Linked DNA regions of Homo sapiens: region 1 is linked to region 2. Evidence: promoter capture Hi-C in human tissues and cell types (Jung and others, 2019). All regions are on one chromosome and are shown on one strand. Each heading gives the region's core, a stretch centred on a gene start or on the middle of the fragment in contact. The rest is flanking DNA. Distances are from core to core; before and after follow the strand shown.

Region 1 (4,573 bases), core at 1,223-3,722, 47 kb after region 2:
TAATAAATGTTTAATCAAATGTCTACAAAGTGTCATCGATTGTTAATTTATGTCATTAATTCTCTATTGGCCTCTTTAATTATTAAATGCAGTGTTCATAAGAATTTCATTACTTTTGAAAAGAATTTGTAGACTAGATGTTAACTCTTGGAGCACAGTCATGTATCTGTTAACCACAGGAATACCATCAGAAAAATGTGTCATTAGGTGATTTCAATGTTGTACAAACATCAGAGAGTGTCCTTACACACTCTGTGATGTGTAGCCTGCTACACACTTAGGCTATAAGAGATAGACTATTGCTCCTAGGCTACAAACCTGTACAGCACGTGACTGTACCGAATACTGTAGGCAATTATAATACAATAATAAGTATTTGTGTATCTAAACATAGCTAAACATAGAAAAGGCACAGTAAAAATATCATATAAAATATTTAAAATGTACACCTGTTTAGGGTACTTACCATGAATGGAGCTTGCAGGACTGGAAGTTGCTCTGGGTGAGTCCGTGAGTGAGTGGTGAATGAATGTGGAGGCCTAGGACAATACTGTACACTACTGTAGACTTTAAAGACACTGTCACCTAGGCTACTACACTAAGTTTATTAAAAATATTATTCTTTGGCAGGGCGCGGTGGCTCACGCCTGTAATCCCTGCACTTTGGGAGGCCGAGGTGGGTGAATCACCTGAGGTCAGGGGCTCGAGACCTGCCTGGTCAACATGGTGAAACCCCATCTCTACTAAAAATACAAAAAATTAGCCAGGCATGGTGGTGGGCACCTGTAATCCCAGCTACCAGGGAGACTGAGGCAAGAGAATCACTTGAACCTGAGAGGCGGAGGTTGTAGTGAGCCGAGATTGTGCCATTGCACTCCAGTCTAGGCAACAAGAGCAAAACTCTGTCTCAAAAAAAAAGTTTTTCTTCAGTAATAAATTAGCCTTAGCTTTCTACAACTTTATGAACTTTAAAATTTTTTTTAAACTTTTTGACTTTTTATAATAACACTTAGCTTAAAACACAAACACATTATGCAGCTATACAAAAATATTTTCTTTTTTTGTATCCTTATTCTATAAACTTTTTATTTTTCAATTATTTTATTTTTACTTTTAAAACCTTTTTGTTAAAAACTAAGACACAAATACACACATTAGCCTAAACCTACATAGGGTCAGGACCATCAATATCACTGTCTTGCACCTCTACACCTTGTCCCACTGGAAGTTCTTCATAGGCAACAACACGCATGGAGCTGTCACCTGCTATTGCAACAATGCTTTTTTTCTTTTTTTTTTTTTGAGACAGAGTCTTACTCTGTCGCCCAGGCTGGAGTGCAGTGGCACGATCTCAGCTCACTGCAGCCTCCACCTCCAAGGTTCAAGGGATCCTCAAGCCTCAGCCTCCCAAGTAGCCGGGAGTACAGGCACGCGCTACCATGCCCAGCGACGGGGTTTCGCCGTATTGGCCAAGCTGGTCTCGAACTCCTGACCTCAGGTGATCCACCTGCCTCGGCCTCCCAAAGTGCTGGGATTACAGGCGTGAGCCACCACGCCCAGCGGACAATGCTTTCTTCTGCAATCTCTCCTAAAGGACCTGCCTGAGGCACTTCTTGAAGAAGTGTCCGTCTTTTCAGAAGTATGTCCATGGTGGTTTGCCAAGTTTGTTTCTTTCTTCCGTCATAGATTTGCATGAGTAATGCTTTGTGTCAGCTAAAATGTTACATCGGCTATGACGTCACTAGGTGATAGGAATTTGTCAGCTCCATTATAATCCTATGGGACCGCCATCGGATACGCAGCCCATCACTGACCTGAGACGTCGTTATTTAGGGTGTGACTGTACTTTAAGAATGCAAATGAATACCCAGGGAGGGCTGAGAACGCGTAGGTAATTACACCATAAATGAATTACTCTTAGCCAAGTAATTTCCAAGGCAAACATACAAAAATCACCTCGTGTTACCTGACAGTGCTATGTTATATTTAACGTAAGAAATCTGTGTATTTTAATATTTAATAAGGTGTGGGAAGGAACTTCCAAAGGTAATAGCATCTGGTCCTAGCAAGGTCTTAAAACGCCGTTTGATTTCAGAATGCCTCATTTTGTAGATTTAATCCAGAATCTGCAGTTTCTGGCGACGCAGTAGTCCGTCTCCCCCAGTTTCTCCTGGCCAAAGCCTCCCACCTTCCTCTCTACCCCCACAACCCTGTCAAGCGCACCTGGACCAGGTACAACAGGGGTGTGTGTGTGAGTGTGAGTGTGTGTGTGAATGCATTTGGGAAAGGCTAGGCAGGGTGAATATTCCCTAGACCCCGCTCTTCACCGTCACTCTACTACAGCAGCTCACTGCCCTGCCCCGCCCCTCCCCGGCCCTGGAAAGCAGCCTCTGGAAAGAGGAAACCAGCTATCTCCCGTGTTGCCACAAGATGGCACCACAAGCTCGGGACTGGCTTTCTTTGCGTTCCCGTCAGAAAAAAACGAGAGCTCTGACCTAGGAGCCGAGGCTCCCAGGGAGACCTCTGGACGCCACTCCCCGGGCTGCTTCTCCTCCTCGGGGTGACTCGGGCCCTCTGGAGTGACCTGCATAGCTTTGTGGTTCGGGCTCCCATGGGGCCCAGAAGCCAGCATGGAGACTTAGGGCTTCTCTTGGGCCACTTTTCTCCTCATACCCAGCATGCAGACCAAGGTTGGGGATGAATTCTGAACGTGGGGCAGAGTCCCTGTCCCCAGAGCAACTCTGAGAGCACCTTGCCCTTCTTCCCAGGGCACAGGCACCAGCCTTCCTCCCCAGCTCAGTCCCTGCTTCTTTCTAAGACAGGTTCTTGCTCTGTCGCCCAGGCTGGAGTGCAGTGGTGCAATTATGGCTCACTGCAGCCTCGACCTCCTCCTGGTGAGAGGTGACAGCGCGCCTGCAGCCCTCGCTCTCGGCGCCTCCTCGGCCTTGGTGCCCACTCTGGCCGCGCTTGAGGAGCCCTTCAGCCCACTGCTGCACTGTGGGAGCCCCTTTCTGGGCTGGCCAAGGCTGGAGCCGGCTCCCTTAGCTTGCGGGGAGGTGTGGAGGGAGAGCCGCGGGCGGGAACCGGGGCTGCGCGCGGCACTTGCTGGCCAGCGCGAGTTCCGGGTGGGCGTGGGCTCCGCGGGCCCCGCACTCGGTGCGGCCGGCCGGCCGGCCCGCAAGCCCCGGGCAGTGAGGGTCTTAGCACCTGGGCCAGCAGCTGCTGTGCTCGATTTCTCGCCAGGCCTTAGCTGCCTTCCCGCGGGGCAGGGCTCAAGACCTGCAGCCCGCCATGCCTGAGCCTCCCCCCAGCTCCGTGGGCTCCTGTGCGGCCCAAGCCTCCGCGATGAGCGCCGCCCCCTGCTCCATGGAGCCCAATCCCATCGACCACCCAAGAACTGAGGAGTGCAGGCACACGGCGCGGGACTGGCAGGCAGTTCCACCTGCAGCCCCCGTGTGGGATCCACTGGGTGAAGCCAGCTGGGCTCCTGAGTCTGTTGGGGACTTGGAGAACCTTTATGTCTAGCTAAGGGATTGTAAATACACCAATCGGCAGTCTGTATCTAGCTCAAGGTTTGTAAACACACCAATCAGCACCCTGTGTCTAGCTCAGGGTTTGTGAATGCACCAATTGACACTCTGTATCTACCTACTCTGCTGGGGACTTGGAGAACTTTTGTGTCTACACTCTGTATCTAACTAATCTAGTGGGGACATGGAGAACTTTCGTGCCTAGCTCAGGGATTGTAAACGCACCAATCAGCACCCTGTCAAAATGGACCAATCAGCTCTCTGTAAAATGGGCCAATCGGCTCTCTGTAAAATGGACCAATCAGCAGGATGTGGGTGGGGCCAGATAAGAGAATAAAAGCAGGCTTGCCCAAGCTGGCAGTGACAACTCGCTGAGGCCCAGTTTACGTTGGCGAAGCTTTGTTCTTTCACTCTTTGCGATAAATCTTGTTGTTGTTCACCGTTTGGGTCCGCGCTGCCTTTATGAGCCGTAACACTCAACCGCGAAAGTCTGTAGCTTCACTCCTGAAGCTAGCGAGACCACGAACCCACCGGGAAGAAGAAAAAACTCCAGACGCACCGCCTTCAGAGCTGTAACACTCACTGGGAAGGTCTGTGGTTTCAGTCCTGAGCCCGTGAGACCACAGACCGACCAGTGGGAAGAAATTCCGCACACATCTGAACATCAAAAGTAACAGACTCTGGATAGGCCGCGTTTAAAAACTATAACACTTACCACGAGCATCCGTGGCTTCATTCTTGAAGTTAGTGAGACCGAGAACCCATTAATTCCCGAAACACACTGGGCGCAAATCTTCCCTTCTCAGTTTTCCAAGTAGCTGGGACTACAGGCGCCAACCACCATGCCTGGCTAATTTTTTTTGTATTTTTAGTAGAGATGGGGTTTCACTGTGTTAACCAAGATGGTCTCAATCTGACCTCGTGATTCACCCGCCTCGGATTCCCAAAGTGCTGGGCTTACAGGTGTGAGCCCGCACACCTGGCCACCAGTTATTTTTCAATTGTTCTGTTTCCCTGTTCTTGCCTTACTAAGAAAGTAATTT
Region 2 (4,944 bases), core at 2,445-4,944:
AGAATTCTCCTGGGTCCTAGAGAAGGGTGGGTTCCTTCCACCCCCAACCCCATTAGTCCCTCGAAAAGGCTCTGACCTCACCTCCCCCACTTCCGGAGTGGAGTTCCAGCCCTGAAGAAACACTTCCAAACCCATGGCTCTGGCCCCCTCCTCAGGCCCCCTCCTCGGCTACCTCGGCCCTGGGGACTGGGTCCCCCACCCCACCGTTGCGCCAGATGTGGCTGCAGGGGAGGGGTAGGCACGGGGCCCAGCTGGCAGTGGTCACTCGGTGGTCCTCTCCCTGCAGAGTCAGCACTTTCTGTGCCAGCTCGCCCAGCCTCCTCACTCAGCACTTCCTCCAGCCCGCTTTCCAGAGGCAGCAGCTGCCTGGGTTGGGTCTTGGATTCCCAGTGCTGCCCCAAACCCATCTACAGCGCAGCCTGGAAGATGGAGGGTTTGGGTGCTCTGGGGCCTTCCCTCTTGGCATCCCCACTATCACAGAAAATTCCGACCCACCATGGGCCTCCTAGTACGTCCCTCTGCAAAGCAAGGGAGGAATCCCACAGCTCCTGACCCCTCTCTGCTCCCCAGACCCGCTGCTGGTCAGGCCTGCTGCTTCCTGGTTCCCCCATGGACTTTCCAGAACTCAGCCTTCCATGACAGGGTCACAGGACCCTGGCTGCTCCGTGGGAGCCCCGGCAACACAGAGCTGAGCACGTGGCAGGGGCTTAATAAAGTCATGCGCAATCAACAGGCTCTTTCATCCTTCTATCACCACCCCTCCGAGGGTCCCTTGACACCGGTTCCTAGTGCCAGGAACTGGCAACAAGCTTCAAGCACATGCCTGGGTCTTAAAAATGTGGGTGTGAATCCCAGCCTGCAGGGACAGGCGGAGAGAGAAGCTGCCCTTCACCCCAGACAGCTCTGGCTCAGCTCAGCCTTCGAGTCCACGCCCTCATTTGACCCCAGCTCTGCACCCTCCATAACCTGCCCAGGTCTCTTTTAGGACCCCACCCTGCAGGTTTCAACCTAAGGATGCCAGGACACCTCCAGCCACCAAGGCAAGGCCTTGCCCAGCATGAGGAGAGGTGATGGAAGGCAGGCTCCCCTGGGCTCACAGAACTGCTGGGCCTGTCAGCCACTGCAGGAGACCTAAACCCAAGTAGAATGAGGTCAGAAGGAGGGAGTAGAGAGGAAGGGAGAGGACAGCTCTGGTGGAGGGGCCACCTCTGGCCCCCCTGCACAAGGTTCACCCTGAGCAAGGAAAGATGCTGAAGACAGATAAAAACAGGAAAGACAGAGGAAGTGGGAGTGGGGGTCAACCCCAAGAGATAAATCCCTCCCTTCTCTCACAAGTCAAGAGGAAAGAAGGAAAATAGTGGCCACATGTCTGGCTCTGTGCTGGGGACTTTTCATAATCCTCTCATTCCATCCTCTCAAATATGCCACAAGAAAGGTATGATTACCCCCAGGTCACAGACGGGACTCTGAAGCTCTGAGAGCTTAAAAAGCTTCCCCGGGGAGTGGCTGGGCCAGGCCAGGTCCCTAGCTCAAGTCATGGTGTGGACCCCCAGGTCTCCATCTCAGCAGGGATGGCTGGCAGGAGCGCAGTCCTGGCCAGGGGAGTCTGTGCAGAGGCCCAGGCTATGTTCAGAGCAGAGTTTATTCAAATAGAGCCTAACAGGAAACTTGGCTCCTCTGACTCACTCTGATTCGACCTTATTAAGAAAAAAAGAGAGAGGAGCAGGAGCCAGCATCGGGTAAGGTTTCACGCCAAGAGCTGGCTCTGAGGCCCGCTGAGTGGAATGGCATGTGCCCTGATCCCCCCACATCCAAAGCCTTGAGGCAGCCCCTGCCCTGCTGTCCGAGTCAAGGCGAGGGGTCCTGCCTTCACGTTAGGGCAACTGAGTTCCCTTCCTCACAGCCATCCTCTGTCCTCCCTCCACTCCTCTTCCCTTCCCTCCCTGCCTAGGGGTACCCTGAGGCCTGTTTCCATTTCTCCCCCTCCTCTGCTGCAGCAGCTGCCCATCTGGCTGGCGGGAGGGCCCTACAGGACCCCAGGGATTCCAAGCAGCTGAGGCCAACACTGCAGGGGGCAAGCAGGAGGGAGGGAAGGCTTAACCCTCCAGGTCCCGGCCCTCAGTAAGCCCTGCCTCAGCATCTTGCTTGGTGTCAGTCACACCAGTGGCTCTTTGGAGGAATCTTGTCTGGAGTCTGAGATGGAAACCCCATGCTGGGGAGCTGAGGTGTCAGCGTTGACAAGTTGCTGGCCAGGAGGTATTGGAAGCCCCCTACCTCTGGGCTGGATTCTGGGCATTTAAAGGGTAGAGACATGCTGGAGTCCAAGCCTCAGTCCTGAAGAACAGTGCAATGGGTGAACAAATGCTGCCTGGCAAGGATGGGGTTGGGAGGTCTATAGTTCCCAAAGAATGTCCACTCTAGTTGCCTCCTCTCTAGGTGGGCTCCAGGCATTTCCAAAATAAAGAATATACAGGAGCCAAATTAAGGACAGGTCCTTCATACCTTGTTTATAAGCCCAAGAGGGCAATTTCTGCCCTTCGGTTCCCAGGAACACGGTTGGAGAAGGCAGCCCAGGGGAGGCCAGAAGAGCAGTATTTGGAGTGTGATTTCTTGGATGCCAAAGCGTTCAAACTTCTGGGACCCCCTCCTATCCCTGCCATTCCCAGAAGGAACAGAGAATCTCCCAAAGCACTCTCAGGAGCCATCTGGCCTAATCTTCCATTGGTAAGCCGTGGCACCTGGATCAGATAGAGTAAGGGACTAAGCCACACAGCAACAGGACCAGGCCAGGTCTCCGGAACCCCCTTCTGTTGTTCAATGCTTACTGGCTTCTCTGCCTCACAGTGACCCCTGTCCCATATCAAAGACAGCCCCCAGTTTCATTTTATCCATGTGTACACTCAAGTTATTCCCAGGCTATGCAGAGCCAAGAGATGTAGGACAGAAACCATACGTGATGTCTGGGAAGTTGATCTCTCCCAGGATCTCACAAGTGCTTTTCAGCTCAGGGATACACCCCACTCTTCAGACTGGGAAAGTAAGCCCCTGAGGTGTGCCACGAGGGAAAAGGTGCAGCTCCAGTGCCTCTCTTCGCAGGCCCAAGAGCTGCGGTGCACCTGGGACCTGGAATTAGAGAGTGGTCCCTGTTCAGCATCTCCCCGAGGAGGCCCACCAACAAAGAGGGTGTGTCTTTTTTTTTTTTTTCTTCCTATTGAGGGTGTGGGATAATGGTGGAAGGAACATGCAAAGAGGGTGTGTCTTAATTAGCACTGGCTTTAGGGAACAAGGAAAAGGGAGAACCCGGGAGTACGGGAAGGAGGCTGGGGCAGACAGGAGTCAGAGGCCCATTCCAGCCCAAACGAGAAGCCAGTGAGCAAGGTGGAGACCAGGGATGCTGTGACCAAAGCAGAGAGGAATGGGCGGGGTGGTGCTGACACCCCAGCCCCGTTCTGCCTGCCAGAGCCCCACTTACCAGGCCCGAGTCCCCAGAGGTCCCCTCCTACTCCCTGCTCGATTCCCTTCCTCAGAGGCAGGTCTGTGGCTTGGCTGGGAACTCCAGGGACTGAGGGAGCACTGCAGCTGTGGGACCGGCGCATAGCTAAAAGCCGGCGGGCCATAGGGCCCCGCGGAGGAGGCCCCAGCAGGCGGACCAGGAGGCCGAAGCCTCCCGACGCTCCCAGCCTGTTGCTTATTCATTCAGAGTGGGAAAGCGCCAGCCGAGCGGCCAGCCAGTGCGGGGCTGGCCATGTAAGGCCCACAGGCGGTCCTGCCCGCCCGGTGCCCTGCGGAGAGCCTCGTGCAGCCCTGGGCACCGCCCCTGCCCTGCCCTGACCCCTTGGCCTTGAAATGCTGTCATCGGAGGAGCCGTCCCGCTCGGGACAAGGCCAGCATGGACAAAGCTAGAGCTGGGGCAAGCAAGGAGCCTTCCTGTCCTCGAGGCCGTGGGAAGAGAAGCACGCCCAGGGGGCCACTCCTGAGAGCCTCTCTGTCCACCAGGCCTCTGCAGAGGGGTCACCATGGCTCTGGCCCGAGGCAGCCGGCAGCTGGGGGCCCTGGTGTGGGGCGCCTGCCTGTGCGTGCTGGTGCACGGGCAGCAGGCGCAGCCCGGGCAGGGCTCGGACCCCGCCCGCTGGCGGCAGCTGATCCAGTGGGAGAACAACGGGCAGGTGTACAGCTTGCTCAACTCGGGCTCAGAGTACGTGCCGGCCGGACCTCAGCGCTCCGAGAGTAGCTCCCGGGTGCTGCTGGCCGGCGCGCCCCAGGCCCAGCAGCGGCGCAGCCACGGGAGCCCCCGGCGTCGGCAGGCGCCGTCCCTGCCCCTGCCGGGGCGCGTGGGCTCGGACACCGTGCGCGGCCAGGCGCGGCACCCATTCGGCTTTGGCCAGGTGCCCGACAACTGGCGCGAGGTGGCCGTCGGGGACAGCACGGGCATGGCCCGGGCCCGCACCTCCGTCTCCCAGCAACGGCACGGGGGCTCCGCCTCCTCGGTCTCGGCTTCGGCCTTCGCCAGCACCTACCGCCAGCAGCCCTCCTACCCGCAGCAGTTCCCCTACCCGCAGGCGCCCTTCGTCAGCCAGTACGAGAACTACGACCCCGCGTCGCGGACCTACGACCAGGGTTTCGTGTACTACCGGCCCGCGGGCGGCGGCGTGGGCGCGGGGGCGGCGGCCGTGGCCTCGGCGGGGGTCATCTACCCCTACCAGCCCCGGGCGCGCTACGAGGAGTACGGCGGCGGCGAAGAGCTGCCCGAGTACCCGCCTCAGGGCTTCTACCCGGCCCCCGAGAGGCCCTACGTGCCGCCGCCGCCGCCGCCCCCCGACGGCCTGGACCGCCGCTACTCGCACAGTCTGTACAGCGAGGGCACCCCCGGCTTCGAGCAGGCCTACCCTGACCCCGGTCCCGAGGCGGCGCAGGCCCATGGCGGAGACCCACGCCTGGGCTGGT

Evidence for each region. Contacts are between HindIII fragments. The study calls those that stand out against the background at their distance.
Region 1: a fragment that was not itself captured here is called in contact with the fragment with the promoter of LOXL1 in region 2 in 1 of the 25 tissues and cell types used here (bladder).

Annotation. Positions count from the first base shown.
Region 1 is chr15:73,970,684-73,975,256 of GRCh38, forward strand. No RefSeq gene overlaps it. Among named protein-coding and RNA genes, the nearest start is that of STOML1, 19 kb to the right of the region's middle. RefSeq lists an enhancer at 2,521-2,730. The HindIII fragment of the contact is 4,429 bases long and covers 259-4,573 here.
Region 2 is chr15:73,922,768-73,927,711 of GRCh38, forward strand. LOXL1 (lysyl oxidase like 1) reads left to right here and starts at 3,695. Exons shown (of 7, transcript NM_005576.4): 1 at 3,695-4,944. The coding sequence starts at 4,017. All of the region lies in intron 1 of LOXL1-AS1 (LOXL1 antisense RNA 1), which reads right to left. RefSeq lists enhancers at 1-176, 177-1,162, 4,201-4,944 and a silencer at 4,943-4,944. The HindIII fragment of the contact is 8,654 bases long and covers 1,150-4,944 here.